Regions from separate parts of the Homo sapiens genome. Here regions 1, 3 and 4 are each linked to region 2. The links are contacts of gene promoters, found by promoter capture Hi-C in human tissues and cell types (Jung and others, 2019). All regions are on one chromosome and are shown on one strand. Each heading gives the region's core, a stretch centred on a gene start or on the middle of the fragment in contact. The rest is flanking DNA. Distances are from core to core; before and after follow the strand shown.

Region 1 (4,126 bases), core at 694-3,193, 400 kb before region 2:
ATATACCTTTTTAAATGGCTAAAATTTAAAAGACTAACCATAGCCAGTGTTGGGGAGGATGAAGAGAAACTGGAACTCTCATACACAGCTGGTAGGAATGTAAAATACTACAACCACGTCAGAAAATTTGGCAGTTCAAGTTAAACATACATACAGCTACCACAGGATCCAGCCACTCCACTCCTAGGCATTTACCCAAGAGAAAAGGAAATATATGTTCACACAAAGACTTATACACAAATGTTCACAGTAGCTTTATTTGTAGATGCCAAAAAGTAGAAGCACCTGAGATGACCAACAAAGGTGACTGGATAAACTGTAATACCCATATAATGAAATCAGCAAAAAAAAAAAGCTGGGTGCGGTGGCTCATGCCTGTAATTCCAGCACTTTGGGAGGCCGAGGCGGGAGGATCACAAGGTCAGGAGATCAAGACCATTCTGGCTAACACAGTGAAACCCCGTCTCTACTAAAAATACAAAAACAAAATTAGCTGGGTGTGGTGGTGGGTGCCTGTAGTCCCAGCTACTCGGGAGGTTGAGGCGGAGCTTGCAGTGAGCCGAGATCGTGCCACTGCACTCCAGCCTGTGCGACAGAGCAAGACTCAGTCTCAAAAAAAAAAAAAGAACTGACCAGGAACAGTGGCTCATGCCTGTAACCCCAGCACTTTGGGAGGCCAAGGTGGAAAGTGGGAAGGACTGCTTGAGTTCAGGAGTTCAAGACAAGCCTAAGGGCCAGGTGCGGTAGCTCACGCAGGTAATCCCAACACTTTTCGAGGCTGAGGTGGGGTGGATCATTTGAGGTCAGGAGTCGAGACCAGCCTGGCCAACATGGTGAAACCCCCTCTCTACTAAAAATACAAAAATTAGCTGGGCGTGGTGGTGGGCGCCTCTAGTCCCAGCTACTTGGGAGGCTAAGGCAGAAGAATCGCTTGAACCCGGGAGGCAGAGGTTGCAGTGAGCCGAGATCATGCCACTGCACTCCAGCCTGGGCGACAGAGTGAGATTCCGTCTCAAAAAAAAAAAAAAAGCCTAAGCAACATACCGAGATCTCATCTCTACTAAAGATAGATAGATAGATAGATAGATAGATAGATAGATAGATAGATAGATAGATATGCCAGGCGTAGTGGCACACACCTGTAGTTCCAGCTACTCAGTGAGATGGGAGATCACTTGAGCCCAGAAGATCAAGGCTGCAGTGAGCTATGATCACGCCGCTATATTCCAGCTTGGGTGACAGAGCAAGACTCTGTCTTAAAAAAAAAAAAAAGAAGGAAATGAACTATCAATACAAGCAACAACATGGACATATCTCAACATAATTATGCTGAGTAAAAGAAGGCAGAGAAAAAAGAATATATACTGTATGAGTCAATTTATGTGAAATTCCAGAAAATGGAAACTAACCTATAGTAACAGAAAGCAGTTCCATGGTTTCCTGAAGAGTGAGGAGGCAGAGGGAGGAATTCCAAAGGTGATGAATGTGTTCACTCTCTGGACTGCAGTGATGGTTTCACAAGGGTACACATATGTTAAAACTTACTAAACTGTATACTTTAAATATGTGCAACTTATTATATCTCAGTAATACTCCAATAAAGCTATTGTAAAAACTAAAATGTATCACGCCTGTAATCCCAGCACTTTGGGAGGCCAAGGCGGGCTGATTGCTTGAGCTCAGGAGTTCGAGATGAGCCTGGGCAATGTGGTGAAACCCCGTCTCCACAAAAAGTACAAAAATTAGCCGGGTGTGGTGGCTTGAACCTGTAGTCCCAGCTACTCAGGAGTCTGAAAAGGGAAGATCACCTGAGCCTAGGAGGTAGAGGTTGCAGTGAGCTGAGACTGTGCCACTGTACTCCAGCCTGAGTGACAGAATCAGACCGTCTCAAAATAAACAAAAATAAACAAACAAAACATAAAACGGTATAGGAAAGTTTAAGAAAAGTGTAATATTCAGCTTCATTTATTAGATTTACAAGAGTCATTTAGGTATTAGAGGGTTTTTTTAATCAGAAAAATGGAAGAATTATTATTATTATTTATTATTATTATTATTTTTTTGAGATGGAGTCTTGCTGTGTCGCCAGGCTGGAGTGCAGTGGCATAATCTCAGCTCACTGCAACCTCCGCCTCCCGGGTTCAAGCGATTCTCCTGCCTCAGCCTCCCAAGTAGCTGGGATTACAGGCGCGTGACCACCACACCCAGCTAATTTTTGTATTTTTAGTAGCGACAGGGTTTCACCATGTTGGCCAGGATGGTCTCAATCTCTTGACCTCGTGATCTGCCCGCCTTGGCCTCCCAAAGTGCTAGGATTACAGGCGTGAGCCACCCACCATGCCCGGCCAGAAGAATTATTAAAATAGTTAACTGAAGTTGAATATGATTTATAAGTTCAATTGAAACATTTCAGAAGTTTCATCAAATTTGCAAATGGGACCAAGCATTAATCAAAAAGCCCCCTAAGGCCGGGGCGGCGGCTCACGCCTGTAATCCCAGCACTTTGGGAGGCCGAGGCGGGCAGATCACTTGAGTCAGGAGTTCGAGACCAGCCTGACCAACATGAAGAAACCCCGCCTCTACTAAAAATACAAATTAGCCAGCATGGTGGCGGGCGCCTGTAATCCCAGCTACTCAGGAGGCTGAGGCAGAAGAATCGCTTGAACCAGGAGGCGGAGGTTGCAGTGAGCCGAGATCGCGACAGAGCGAGACTCCATCGCAAAAAAAATAAATAAATAAAAGCCCCCTGAAAGTGACTGTTAAAATGTCCTAGAATCGTAAATAGATCAGAAAGATTTATAGGCTACACTTATAAGCTAAACTTAAAAGACTGGCCCTTAAAATAACTAGGTTTCTGAATTCATAATTTTAACAAATTGAAAATCAATTGTTTTCGACCAAAGTAATTTCTGAATAATCTTTGCATTACATAAAAATCCAGGGGTAGGAGTGGGTGTGGCATCCAAACCTCCCTCAGACATGCCACGCACCAGTCACCCGAAACTCACCAAGTCGCTTAGTCTCTAGTCTCTCTGAACCTCTGGTTCCTCACACATTGCAAGAGACAAATATTTTCCAGAATAAATAATATACTTATTATTAATGATTTAATATTAATACATTTCACATTGATACACAGCATGTACATGAGAAGAGGCTCCAAAGCAGCATAAAGTGATGTGCAAACGTAATAAATGGGCAGCATGTGTCACTTCATAGTAACTGCAGCACTCAGTGACAGACAAGAGAAAGGTGACACACATCCCCAGAGACTAAGTATGACTCAGCATGGCCAGGTCGTGGAATTTTCCCAAAGCCTCGTTGTGATGTCATGGTGGATGTCATCAGGAAAGGAGCTGCCACAGAAGCAGTCAGGCCCTTCCACACACAGGCAGTGGAAATGTACTCCCAGCTGTCCCGTGCCCTCCCGGCCCCACCTCTTTCTCTGGCCTCGAGGCATATCAGGACAAGGAGGTAACACAAGAGTAGGAAACCCGAGGTAGTGCTGGGAGTACCTGGGGTAACGCCTTCAGGCATAACACTTAACAACACAACAAAGGGCCACATCCATGTCCCCCCAGGAGAAAGCTGAAGAGGAGGGGAGGGTGACAAGCTTAGACTACAGAGCCTTAGTCCCTAGGCAAAGCTCAAGTCAGCAGTGCCTTGGGAACTGAGGAGCCAAACAAGCTTTGACAAATTACATAACCTGGAAGAAGAGGTCCCTTCTTGGTGACTGATTTTCCCTCTCTATTGATGGATCTAAGGGAAGACATCAATAAAATATGGCAATTTTAAAAGAAGAATAAACAATGGGATCAGCATCTTGGATTCTGCTAAGCAGCCTTCTCTAGGCTTCAGTTTCTTCAGTTCCATAAGACAAGTGGTTTGGGGGGAACCTTCCCCAACATGCCCACCTCTCATTGTAGGGATGCAAGTAAGAGAAATAACATCCAACTCTAGCAGCCAAGAATAAGAGGACAGAGCAAGCAGAGAGAGAACAAGGGGGTGAAACTCGTGGAGGGTGGAGTTCTTCCACGTTACGGCCATTCCCACCATGAGCCCATTGCCCTTACTCAATGGTAGCACGCAGACGGCACCTGCTGGCCCAAGACCTAGCTCCAAGGGA
Region 2 (4,447 bases), core at 1,232-3,731:
AGTTTCTTACCAAAGCCCCTCAGATGATGGTCATGTCTGAGCAGGTCCTGCAAGTTGAGACCCTCGCCAGCCCTGCTTTGGATCAAGGTGGCCCCCGATGTGGGAAGCCAGAGGTGCTTGCTGGGAATGTATAGATATGTTTGGACTTCATGAGCTATGGACCCCAGGGGTCCTTCTCTGGCAAAGCACCCATGTTTGTGAGGTGGGCACCGCTTAGCAAGGCAGGTGGCTGGCTAGTCAGGTAGGTTTTCCCTGGCTGCTCCAGAAGGTGAGTCATGAGTAGTTTCCCTGTGGGCCACCAGGGGGCACCAGAGGTCGCTCAGCTCTTCCGAGGACTTGATCCGTCTCAAGATGACTGTCTCCTCCCTCTTCGGCCTAGGACTTTCTTGAAGGAAAAGAGCTGTAGTGGTGCCTCTCTCATCTCCTAACTTGCTAGGGACTGCCAGTCAAAGCAGGGCCACAGTAAAGGACTGAAGGTCAGGATTCCAGGCTCAATATTCTTTATTGATAAGCATTAGTGAACCCCTTGCCCTGGGAGCTCAGCCAGTCCTGCTCTCAGATTCCTGGCCTTAGGTGGGAGAGCATCTTTTCCTCATGGATCAACTGTCCATGTCTGACTGTGCCTAACTTGCCAGATCATGGGTCAGGGAGACAGGCAGCAGGTATTGGAAGGTGATGGCCAGGTCCTTTTCCCCAGTGACCACTCTCCATCTAGAAGCACTCTGCTTCAGCTGCGCAGGCTCTTCCGGGGACTCTGGGAGCCTGCTGGTTAGATGGAGGAGTTGAGCCTCTGACACCTCCAGGTTCTGCCTGCCAAGGGTTCCTCCGCAGCCGGGCTGAGCTGAGCAGGAGCAATGGGCTCTCGCTTCTGTCCTGAGGTTCTTGGGTGGTGAGCAAGAGAGCTAAGGGCAGGAGGTCTTACGTGGTGCCTCATAGGGGATAGAGATGCCAGAGACTGTGGAAGATGGGGTGGGAGGGAGGGATACCCCAGAGAGAGAGAGAGAGAAACAGAGAATCAGTTGTTGAGTCCCTGGATCTGATTTCACCAGCTTATTCTTGGCCATGCCCATAGTCCTTGGGAAACCCCTCAGTTCTAAATAGATAGTTCCTTGGGTCCTGGGTGTACCTTTGCCCCCCACTAGCTTGTAGAGGTAAGAATTATTGGCCGGGTGTGGTGGCTCACGCCTGTAATCCCAGCACTTTGGGAGGCTGAGGTGGGTGGGATCACGAGGTCAGGAGATCAAGACCATCCTGGCTAACACGGTGAAACCCTGTCTCTACTAAAAATAGAAAAAATTAGCCGGGCGTGTTGGCGGGCGCCTGTAGTCCCAGCTACTTGGGAGGCTGAGACAGGAGAATGGCGTGAACCCGAGAGGCGGAGTTTGCAGTGAGCCGAGATCGCGCCACTGCACTCCAGCCTGGGCAACAGAGCAAGACTCTGTCTCAAAAAAAAAGAATTATTATAGTGGCGTGTCCTCCTGAGCCAGGCACCTCATAGAATCTTCTTGCCTGTTCAGCAAGGCCTTCCAACCCTCCATCCATTTCTCCCTCAGGTCAGGACAGCAGGGTGACAGTGCCTGGAGAAGGCCCTGGCTCCCCTGAAAGCCCTCCCGGCCTGTCTCTGACCTGCACTGGAAGCGGGGGTCTCCGGGGTGGGTCTTCAGCACCTGCCACACCTCTGGGGGAGGCTCCAAGCCCATCTGCTTGGCCCGACACCAGCGCTGCAGCCGTGTGATCCCTGCCAGGGTGGGAAGAAGACTCTGGAGACTTGTGGGGGGTGGGGTAGAGTCTGAGCTGGAGAATGTGTGTGTTGGGGGGAGACAGTTCCTGAGGGTCAGAGTCACGCAAGCGCTTGGGTGACTTCAGAGACGTGTGGGTGACTGGCTGGGAGAGGCGCCTCCGTGGGGCTGGGTGGGTTCTCACCGGTGCAGGGCCCGTACTGCCAGGCCAGGTCAAACTGCCTCAGCAGCTCCAGCTCCGCTTCCTCCTCGTCGCGGGGCTGGGGCTCCTCCCCTGCAATGACAGCTGCTCTTCAGTACGAGGTTGGCTTCAGTCTCCTGCCCCTCACCTCCCAGCCTTCCTCACCACCGCTTTGCCTCTGCCACCCCGCAGCTAGACCTGGTGTCGGGAGGGGAGGACAGGCCACCTTTCCCTTTCCATCGGCCCCTCCGCCCCTCTAGGGGCCTCCTCTAGGCCCCTCCGTGTCCACTCCTCCTGCCTCCCTCACACCTCAGAGACCTAGCTCGGGTGCCAGCTCCCCCTTGCTGTGCCCAGCGGGCCCCTCCCTCCTCTTCACAACCGGGTAGGAATCAGTGATGAGCCGCTTCCGGCCCATGGCGGCCACCCAGGCAGGCAGAGAAGGAGGCAACTGCGGGGAAGAGGAGAGACCGGCCAGTGGGCGCGAGAAAGACAGCTGCTGAGAGAGACAGACGGGGCCAGGCCAGCGGCGGGCAGACAAGATGACCCAGACAAACCGAGAGAGGAAGTCGCCGGGGTCCAGGGAGGGACGCCTCCCCCACCCCCAAAAGCACGCAAACAGGAAAGACTTCAGCCAATGGCAGGCCGCCTATGCGGGGCGGGGCCCTGGCGCTAGCCAATGGTAGGCAGTGTAGGGTGAGGGGCGGGGCGGTGCCTCAGCTGTGGGCCGCGGGAGGAGGGGCAGGCTGGGGCGGGGGACCTGTCGGGATGCCCCGACTTCACCACCTTCCCCGGCCCCCATTGGTCTGCTGTGGGTCCCGAGAGACTTCAGGAGAGTTATCTTCAGCCTCTCACTTCCCGTTTTCCCTTCCTAGGCAAATGTTCTTTTCAGCTTCGCTAATCCCCGTGGCCAGTTTGTAACTCCCTAGAGTCCAGCTGGAGCCTTCACTCGGTCCTTTGGCCCGCCCCGCCTTGTGGGGGCAGGTCTGGAGGTCTGAAGAGAGTTTGGGCTAATCCAGGCCCCTTCCCGGCTCCCACCCAACCCCCACTGGCCCCAGGAGACCTGGCTGGAGAAGCCCATGGGTTCTGAAACCTCCTTTCTCACAGTCTGTGCCCAAAGATGCTGCCCACTCTTAGTCCGAGTAAGTGTTTGCCGTTTTGACTCTCCTGGGGTCCCAAGTCGTGTCCGGCCCGCCCCACCAGTCAGGAAGATTCCATACTGAGTAGGAAGGCAGAGCAAGGGTCTGGTCCCCCCACCACAATGTGTTTGGATCCCTAGTTCTTCACTGGCAAAATCTGCCCTGTCTCTCACAATAATGTGAGTCTGAGCAGAAAATATTAATAATAAACCTAACACTCATTGCACGTACCATGTGCCAAGTACTGTTCTAAGCACTTTCCCACATGTTAATTAAAATAGATGTCAAAAAGTTTTTGAAAGTAGGAAGTATAGCTAAATGATTATCACTGCTGATAGTCACAGGCATTGTAGGGCCCCAATCAAACCACAGTCTCTCTTGCACCCCAGGAGCTCACTGTCACAAGGCAGACAGATGCACAGTTGTCAGTGAGAGGCTATAATTCCTACCAGAAGAGGGAAAGGGTGGGTCAGAGATTGGTTAGGACCACAGGGATGATTAGCATTGGAAGGCCTCCTGGAGGAGGTGGACTGCTGTAAACAATGTCTCTCAATTCTCCACCCATGACCTTTGTCCCTTGGGCTCCTGTCATCACTGACTCACCCATACTGCTGCCTCCCCCTCACCAACTTCCTGGCAGGAGGCAAAAGTACTGGCCAGTGGGAGTCTGGGAACCAGCACAGGGACCAGCCCAGCTCTAATCACCCTCCAGAGATCCCATCCGGTTCTTCCTTCCAGGGATACTGGGAGGGTGGGGCACAGACTCCTGGGCTGCTGCCTGCTCAGAGGCCTCTGCCTCCTCCTTTCCCTGCTCTGGGGTCTGGGTGTTCTGCACTGGAAGAGGGCTAAGCCACTGGTACACGTGGGCACAAGGGAGGAAGCTGCTCTGGAAAGGAGACCACCAGAGGGGAGGCAGAGGAGCAGGCCATGTCTTCAGGGTCCACGTCCTGCCTGGCTCTCCCCATCGGCGTCCTAGAGGAGGGAGCTTGTGGGGGCACTGCATGGAGCTGGAGGGCCCTTTCTGCTGTATTGTTTGGGCTGGGCCTAGTCTAATCCCCCCATCTGCCTTGCGGACTAAGTGGGGCCCACATTCAGGGAGACAGTGTCCCTGCGGAGTTAGTGATGGAAGCAGGGAGGCCCTGTCTACCAGGGCTGGGAAGGGCCTAGGTGCTGAGTCCAGTCAGGTGCTGAGCATGCTAGGTAGGGATGGCGTCTAGGCTCTGGGGGATTGACTACCCCTCCCCAGAGGGTCTTGGCAAGGGTTCCTGGGCTGTTTCCAGAGGTGTGTGGCACCCACCTCCTGAGTCCACCAAGCCCTGAGGGAGTAGGGAGCCATGGGTGGGGCAGACCCCTCCTCATTCCCAGTCCCTCCCACCCCTGAAAGCTGATAG
Region 3 (4,262 bases), core at 909-3,408, 460 kb before region 2:
GCTAGCATCCCCAAATACAGGCATGACGGCACTCTTCCTGAAAAGTGGGGTAATTCTCTGACTCCCCACTGTCTGTAGGTGGGAAACTCAAGTCTCCTTGGGGACCTCCCCCAAAATTAGTGCACCCTGCCTGTCCAGCCTTGTCCCCCCATGCCCCAGCCTCCCGGATTCTCCAGCTGCAGCCCAGCTGCCTCCTCTTTGTTCTCAGAAATCCTAGCACCTGCCCCTCTCCCTCAGAGCACTCCCTCTACCATTAGAACACCCTTCCCGTCCCAGCTTTTGCCCATGCAAGTCCTGCTCCTGTCTCAGGTATGCATCTAATTTTTCTCCCTCCCTTATGAAATCCCACTAAGACTTCAGCAAATATATATATATTTTTAAAGCTATGAACCCCCAAGGGCAGAACAGGAGAGGAGACAACAGCAACATGACTGCAGAAGCTGGAGCGCAGCTCGCGTCAGCTGACCTCACAGCCTGGGTCTGGAGCAGGCTGAGAACACCCGGGTTCCCACCATCCACCAGGAATCCTCCAAAGGCCAGGGAACTGCAGCTCCAGGCCTCCCACCTCCACAATGGGCTGAACGGGCTGCCGTGTATAAAGAGGGCAGGCTGAAAGCTTTCAAAAAGCAATCAGGGCTGGGCACAGTGGCTCGCACCTGTAATGCCAACACTTTGGGAGGCCAAGGCGGGTGGATCACCTGAGGTCAGGAGTTCGAGACCAGCCTGGCCAACATGGTGAAACCCCGTATCTACTAAAAATACAAAAATCAGTTGGGCGTGGTGGCATGCACCTGTAGTCCCAGCTACTCAGGACGCTGAGGCAGGAGAATCACTTGAACCCAGGAGGCGGAAGCTGAAGTGAGCCGAGATTGTGCCATTGCACTCCAGCCTGGGTGACAAGAGTTAAAACTCCGTCTCAGGAAAAAAAAAAAAAAAAATAGCAGTTAGACCCCTACCTCCCCCATCTCATGCCAGAGACCTCCCCTCTCCAGCCCTGGAAGAACAGAGGTTTACTTTCTGGGGAGGGAAAAGTGTGGGGTCTCTGGACTGGGAAATTCGAGGCACAGTTGAGGGCCTGGGGACCTTGCCAAAAATGGGGGTGGCAGGTTACGTGACTCTTTGCATGCTACCCCCTTCCCCAACTGAGCTCCCAGGTGTTGACACTGAGGTTCCCCAACAAACAGCCTGCCCAGATCATGTACTGGTAAACTCAGAACTGGACCCCCACCTGCTCCAGCTCCCAGGCAGCATTTTAGACCCTCCTAATAATTATGAGTGGGCAACCAAAGGTCCCTGGGCAGATTCATTCAAAGAGGATGGAGACCAAAGGAAAGAGCAGAGAAAGCAATTTGGAGGAAACCAACTATGCAGGGAGAAGAAAACTTAGAGACAAACATGGCATTCACATTCTCACAGAAATAAGAAACGATTACATCAGTGAAAACATAGGATGCTACACACATTTTTAAAGAACCATTTGGGGAGCAAAAAAGCTCTTGGAAATTAAAAAATACAATAAGACAAAGCAATAGAAAGGTTGAAAGATAAAAGGAAATCTTCTAGAAACTGAAGAAAAGAGACAAAGAGATGGAAAATAGGTGAAAAAGGGAAAAAAATTAGAGGGTCAGTCCAAGAGATCCAAAAACTAAATAATAGGAGTTTCAGAAAGACAGAACAGTAAAAAACAGAGGGCAAGAAAAGGAATGTTTCAAGAAACTCCCAGGATAGGACATGAGTTTCCACACTGGAAGGACTTGCTGAGAGCCTCACGAAACAGATGAACACAGGCCTACACCAAGGCACTGTGTCCAATTTCAGATCCTGTAAGCTTTCCCAAAGGAGGGTAAAAAGAAAAAAAAGACAAAAGTATCAGAAATCAGAAAGGTTTTGGACTTCTTAGCAGTTTCAGAAGTTAGAAAAGTGCAAAGCAATCCTTCAAACTTGTCAAGGAAAAATTGTTTCCAACCTGAAATTCTCTTTTTTTTTTCTTTCCGGAGACAGTCTGGCTCTGTCATCCAGTCTGGAGTGCAGTGGCACAATCTCAGCTCACTGCAACCTCCACCTCTTGGGTTCAAGCAATCCTCTGCCTCAGCCTCTCGAGTAGCTGGGATTACAGACATGTGCCACCATGCCTAGCTAATTTTTGTATTTTCAGTAGGGATGGGGTTTCACCATGTTGGCCAAGATGGTCTTGAACTCCTGGCCTCAAGTGATCCACCTGCCTCGGCCTCCCAAAGTGCTGGGATTACAGGCATGAGCCATGGCTCCTGGCCCCAACCTGAAATTCTCTATCCAGCTAAACTATCAACCATGTATGAAAGTAAAATAACAAGAAAAGGCAAAGGTCTTTGTTAGGAAGCTGCTGTCAATATGCTGCACCCAAACAAGGGAGCAAGCAAACGAGAAAGAGGAGCGGGGAACAAAGGAGAAAGACAGAGGAAATCCCTGGGAGAGGGCACGCCAAGGGAGCAGAGGGGCAAGGAGGATGGACAGCGCCGCTGGCTCCCTTCAAGGGGAACTAAAGGAAAATGAAGCCTCACTCTTACTGATGAGAGGGCCTATGCCGAACCTGACCGCAAGACACGAAAGCAGCAAGAACATAACACCTGAAGCCTAACCCACACCTTAGCAGGAGGCCCCTGATCCCCACGGACCACAATGTGGATGCTGTGAAAATCTGCCTAGATGAGAAGCGTCCGCCTATATATACGCACATACACTCATAAACATAGAGTATTTCTAGAATGACACTTCAGGAGCTGGTAACAGTGGCTGCCTCTGGGAAAGGTTTCTCTTTCACTGCTGATCCTTTTGTTTTTTGTTTGTTTGTTTGTTTGTTTTTTGAGATGGAGTCTCACTCTTGTCGCCCAGGCTGGAGTGCAGTGGTGCAATCTCGGCTCACTGCAACCTCTGCCCCCGGGATTCAAGAGATTCTCATGCCTCAGCCTCCAGAGTAGCTGGGATTACAGGCGCGCACCACCATGCCTGGCTGATTTTTTTGTATTTTTAGTAGAGATGGGGTTTCACCATGTTGGCCAGGCTGGTCTCGAGCTCCTGACCTCAGGTGATCCACCTGCCTAGGCGTCCCAAAGTGCTGGAATTACAGGCATGAGCCACCGCGCCCAGCCTTGACCCTTTTGAATTGGCACCATGTACTTGATTATCTATTCAAAAAGTGACTAAGTCGGGGTGCAGTGGCTCACACCTATAATCCCAGCACTTTGGGAGGCCGAAGCAGGCAGATTACCTGAGGCCAAGAGTTCGTCACCAGTCTGGCCAACATGGCAAAACCCCGTTTCTACTAAAAATATAATAAATTATCTGGATGTGGTGGCACACACCTGTAGTCCCAGTTACTCGGGAGGCTGAAGCAGGAGAATTGCTTAAACCCGGGAGGCAGAGGTTGCAGTAAGCAGAGATTATGCCACTGCACTCCAGCCTGGGCGACAGAGAGAGACCTGCCTACAAAAAATAAATAAACAAAAAGCGAATAAAATACAACATGCGAAAAGCTATCCTCCTTCAAAGCCTCACTTCATTGCCCCCTCCCTGAGGAAGCCTTCCCCGGTTCCCAACCCAGGACCAGAGTAAGACAGGGACCCTCCTCCTGGCCTGCTTCTCCCCAGGCCCTGGTTAGCGAGTACAGGTCATGTATCCAGCCTTGAGCTCTACGGGGGCAGACATAACTAACTCATCTTTGTTATGTCCACTTGGTAGAGATAACTTGCTCCAGGAGCACTGGAAAGAAACTTTCATTTTCTGCCTACAATATTCCAGGCATCTTCCTTTTAGCCCACTGAATTGTCACCACAATCTCATGGGGTATTATCAACCCTCATTTTACTGAAAAGAAAATTGAGGCTGGGAAGGACCCACAGGAAGTAGCAAACTCAAGAATAATTAAGGCTGCCCAGCTCCAGGGCCCCTGTTTTTTCATGAGAGCAGCTAGCCTGGTGCCTAGCTCACAGTACAGTTCCAAAAATGTTTAACTCAACCAAATTAAATTGGAATTAAGATTAAACTGGAATTAAGATTTTCTTCTGGAGCTGGGGTCCTCCCATGTTCTGAGATCCTGAAAAAGCAGCTGAGGGCCCTCAGTGGCAGACAGCACCTCCACCCGGCCAAAGGGAGCCAGGGCCAGCGGTCACAGCCCGGTGGGAAAGTTTCCTCATTAAATCACAGTCTTTTAGCCGACTGCGCTGCCCTTCAGGGCCAGGGTTTTGTTTTTTAACAGCTTTACTGAGATACAATTCACATACCAT
Region 4 (4,224 bases), core at 1,538-4,037, 350 kb after region 2:
TAGATATTGAAGTCAGAGTATGCTTATTCTGTTACATTTGCTACATAAGGCATAACAGAGAGGTATTACTATAAAATAAGAAACTTGAAGAAAGTTAGTTCTGAGAAAAGATATCAATAACATTTATGATTTAAAGGGGAAGCTTTGAAGAGGAACCTTTGCTTTCTACAGTCAAGGTCTCACTAAGTTGCCCAGGCTGGTCTTGATCTGCCCGCTGTGGCCTCCTAAAGTCTGGGATTGCAGGCATGAGCCACTGTGCCTGGCCCTTCCTTTTGGAAGCCCGGTTTGAATACTGCCCTCTTGTTTTTAGCTATTTGTTATGGCAGCAACCCACCTGCAATACAAAAATCCAGACAAGTTATCTGCTGCAGTATAACAAATTACCCCAAAACTGAGAGGCTTAAAACAGTTCTCAGTTATGATTCCACGGCTTCTCCAGGTCAGGAATCTGGCTGCAGCTTAGCTGGGCCCTCTGGCTCACAGTCCCTCCCAGGCTGCAACCCAGGCATCGTACTTGATGTGGGAATTGCTGTGGACCAGTGCCTGCTTCAGGCTTCCCACCAACCCCTTCCTGGCTTTGAACAGAAATAGCCACAGCAGGCATCTTAGGTGTCATAGACAGAGAGACTCTATTTTTGTTGTTTGATCACCGACAGCTTCTATGTCCCCATCCCTCCACTTTGCCCCATATCTGGGTGGCCCAATCAGAGAGCCCAAGGGTGCCCTCTGTCTCTTGGCATGAGTGGGAATTTCAAACCACATCAGCCCCAGGCTGCACCTGGGCACCTCCACCCGGGTCATCCTTCTGCACGGCAGAAACCTGAGGCCACTTCTTCCCTCCCCACACAGCTTATTCTGCTCCAGACCAACCTTGAGCCCTCCTGTGGGAGGAAGGGCTGTTTCTCCTCTTGCTGTTTATTATGTGAGTGATAAATTTGATGTCATGTCCATTGGTGCCAATGTCTTTCATCCCAGTATCCACAAATCCCTGGGTGGGGGCCGCCCAGTGTCCGGCAGGGATGCCAGGCACCCAAATCACACAATTTATGCTGGGAACCGGAGGGCTGGATGCCGATCCTACATAGCATGTGTTTCTTCTCTCACTCTTGGCTTACTCACCAGGTCCATACCACAGGTAGTGGGCTCAGACTGGCCTGGACCGTCTTGGCCGATTGCTGGCACGCCTGTGCTCTGGGCCACATCACTTTAGGGTGGTTCTCCTGGGATTTTCCAAGCATCTGCTTTAAAAGTAGCAGCTTAAGCCAGAGGTAATGATGGGGAAAGGGGGCTGAGGAGCCAGACATAAAGTGAATCCTGACCCCAGACTGGACCCTAGTAGTTGGTAGCATCATTCATTGGAGGGAATGGTTATATGTCTCAGCCAGAAGCTGGCCCCACATTTCCCAAACGCTGCACGTAAAAAGGCAAGAACTCCCCGCGGGGGCCACTGTTTGAACAAGAATTTATGTGGTGTTCAGAGCCCCAGGATTCCCATGGCAGAGGTTCCTCAGGGCTCGGCAAGCAGGTACATTACTGCTGCTGTCCTCACTGCCGTGACATGGTCATGCACACTGAGACTCCCTGGAGAAAAAAATTAAATAAACCCCCCCCCTAAAATATCCCTAATTACAAAAGGTGAAGATAAAATGACTCAGGTCAAGGAAAAAAATTGTCCTAACTGTCATCCAAAAGACCACCAGGACGGCTACACAGTCGAAAGAGGAGCTTTACTGGCAAACTGGGAGGAGAGACTCATCTCAAACAAACAAAAAAGGAAATGTAATTGCCATTGTAACAATGTCGTGGAGGGGACCCTCCATAGGCGATTAGGTCATGAAGGCTCTGCCCCCATGAATTAATTAATCCTGTTATGGCAGGAGTAGGTTAGTGATCACGAGACTGGGTGTGTTATAAAAGTGAGGTCGGCCTGATTTCCTCCCTGTCTCACATGCTTGCTTCTGCCTTACACCCTTCTGCCACAAGATGACCCTTGCCCAAAGCCAGCACCATGCTCTTGGACTTCCCAGCCTCCAAAACTGGGAGAAATAAATTTCTTTTATCAGTTGTCCAATTTGTGGTGTTAATTTGCAGACTAAGACAGGCTTTCTAATAACGTTTGTTGGGGCTACTTGGATTTTTGAGGCAACATATTCCCACTTACACATTTCATGAAAACCTCTTTATTCAATTTCTCCTAAGTCTGCTCATTATAAACAGCCACTTCACACAAGCCCTCCAGGCTGTGTAGGGAACGGCTCCACCATGGCACCCTGGTGGCCCTGAACATATCCACACAGGCTACAGAGGCGAAAGCTCAAACTGAGGCTCATCTGAGTCATGACAGGACACTTTGTGATCCTCCAGAGAGTGGGAGGCCTGTAGGAGCTGCTACCACTCCCGTTGGCTCCCTGTCTCCCCCAGGAGGCTGTCATGAGAAGGTTCTGCATGGCCTTCGGGTTCTGATGAGGCCTGCCACTGTCTGTCCTGCCCTCTTCTGAACAGAGTTGCTGTTGCAGGAAATCAGGGACCCTGAACGGAGTGACCAGCTGGAGCCGTGCCATAGGAACATAAATTGTGAAGATTTCATTTTAATATGGACATTTATCAGTTCCCAAATAATACTTTTATAATTTCTTATGCCTGTCTTTACTTTAATCTCTTAATCCTGTTATCTTCATAAGCTAGGATGTACATCACCTCAGGACCACTGTGATAATTGTGTTAACTGTACAAATTGATTGTAAAACATGTGTGTTTGAACAATATGAAATCAGTGCACCTTGAAAAAGAACAGAATAACAGTGATTTTTAGGGAACAAGGGAAGACAACCATAAGGTCTGACTGCCTGTGGGGTCAGGCAAAAAGAGCCATATTTTCTTCTTGCAGAGAGCCTATAAACGGACATGCAAGTAGGAAACATATTGCTAAATTCTTTTCCTAGCAAGGAATATTAAGATTAATATCCTGGGAAAGGAATGCATTCCTTGGGGGAGGTCTATAATAACCGCTCTGGGAATGTCTGTCTTGTGCAGTTGAGATAAGGACTGAGATATGCTCTGGTCTCCTGCAGTACCCTCAGGCTTACCAGGGTGGGGAAAAACTCTGCCCTGGTAAATTTGTGGTCAGACTGGTTCTCTGCTCTTGAACCCTCTTTTCTGTTGTTTAAGATGTCTATCAAGACAATATATGCACTGCTGAACATAGACCCTTATCAGTAGTTCTGCTTTTGCCCTTTGCCTTGTGATCTTTGTTAGACCCTTATTAGTGGTTCTGCTTTTTGCCCTTTGAAGCATGTGATCTTTGTACTTACTCCCTGTTCTCACACCCCCTCCCCTTTTGAAACCCTTAAGAAAAACTTGCTGGTTTTGAGGATCAGGCAGGCCTCATGGTCCTACTGATATGTGATGTCACCCCGGCAGCCTAGCTGTAAAATTCCTCTCTTTATACTGTCTCTCTATTTCTCAGCCAGCCGACACTTATGGAAAATAGAAAGAACCTACATTGAAATATTGGGGGTGGGTTCCCCCAATATCTGGCACACCAACGTGGTTTTCTTTTTCCTAAGTGCATGTGGGAACCCGATTCCCTTTGGTAGGTATGTAGAAACGTTCATCGGTCCGGTCCACAGAAACCCTTGTTCGGCTCCCTGACAACTGGTGAGTTGTCTGTGTATTGTCCGGGGTAACTATGAGTCATGCAGAATCTAAACATTATGCTTATCTCTGCTATATTAAACTCCTGTTAAAACAGGGAGGAGTTTGGGTACCCATGGAAAATATGGTCACCCATTTCAGGGCGGTGGAAGAACACTGTCCTTGGTTTCCTCAAAAGGGAACGTTAGATGTGGAACTTTGGGATTGTGTTGGTGCAAAATTCCGGGAACCGGTCCCAACAGGAAATTATGCTCCCGTCACTGTTTGGGGTGATTGGGCCTTGGTACGTGCCATCCTAATGACATACCAATCCTGTGACCCCCTGCAGTTACCACAGTTTTCTGAATCTGGAGACCCTCTACCTCTTCCTCAGCTTTCCTCTCCCACTCGGCCTTTGTTATCTGCTCAGCTTCTCCCTTCACCTACTCCTCCCCAACCTGAGAATGTTGAGGATTCAATATCTAACTCCGGTGACTTTGGCTTAATGTCACCCCCTGATGATTTTATTTCTTTTCACGAATTGCTGGTACTTGTAGCTCCCGCGGCCCCGACTTGGACAGCCCGAGACCA

The links. The method cuts DNA at HindIII sites, captures the fragments that hold promoters and counts their contacts. A contact is called where the count stands out against the background at its distance.
Region 1: a fragment that was not itself captured here is called in contact with the fragment with the promoter of POLD4 in region 2 in 1 of the 25 tissues and cell types used here (dorsolateral prefrontal cortex).
Region 3: a fragment that was not itself captured here is called in contact with the fragment with the promoter of POLD4 in region 2 in 1 of the 25 tissues and cell types used here (dorsolateral prefrontal cortex).
Region 4: a fragment that was not itself captured here is called in contact with the fragment with the promoter of POLD4 in region 2 in 1 of the 25 tissues and cell types used here (lymphoblastoid cells).

What each region holds. Positions count from the first base shown.
Region 1 is chr11:66,946,949-66,951,074 of GRCh38, forward strand. All of the region lies in intron 3 of PC (pyruvate carboxylase), which reads right to left. Among named protein-coding and RNA genes, the nearest start is that of PC, 9.4 kb to the right of the region's middle. The HindIII fragment of the contact is 7,176 bases long and covers 1-4,126 here.
Region 2 is chr11:67,351,065-67,355,511 of GRCh38, forward strand. It overlaps POLD4 (DNA polymerase delta 4, accessory subunit), which reads right to left and starts at 2,482. Exons shown (of 4, transcript NM_021173.5): 1 at 2,239-2,482; 2 at 1,924-2,013; 3 at 1,627-1,738; 4 at 1-955. The coding sequence starts at 2,335. The coding sequence ends at 931. All of the region lies in intron 2 of LOC100130987 (a long non-coding RNA gene), which reads left to right. RefSeq lists enhancers at 1,162-1,744, 1,745-2,326, 2,320-2,369 and a silencer at 2,550-2,799. The HindIII fragment of the contact is 15,541 bases long and covers 1-4,447 here.
Region 3 is chr11:66,894,106-66,898,367 of GRCh38, forward strand. All of the region lies in intron 3 of PC (pyruvate carboxylase), which reads right to left. Among named protein-coding and RNA genes, the nearest start is that of MIR3163, 38 kb to the right of the region's middle. The HindIII fragment of the contact is 7,533 bases long and covers 1-4,262 here.
Region 4 is chr11:67,696,042-67,700,265 of GRCh38, forward strand. No RefSeq gene overlaps it. Among named protein-coding and RNA genes, the nearest start is that of ALDH3B2, 24 kb to the left of the region's middle. The HindIII fragment of the contact is 5,827 bases long and covers 1-4,224 here.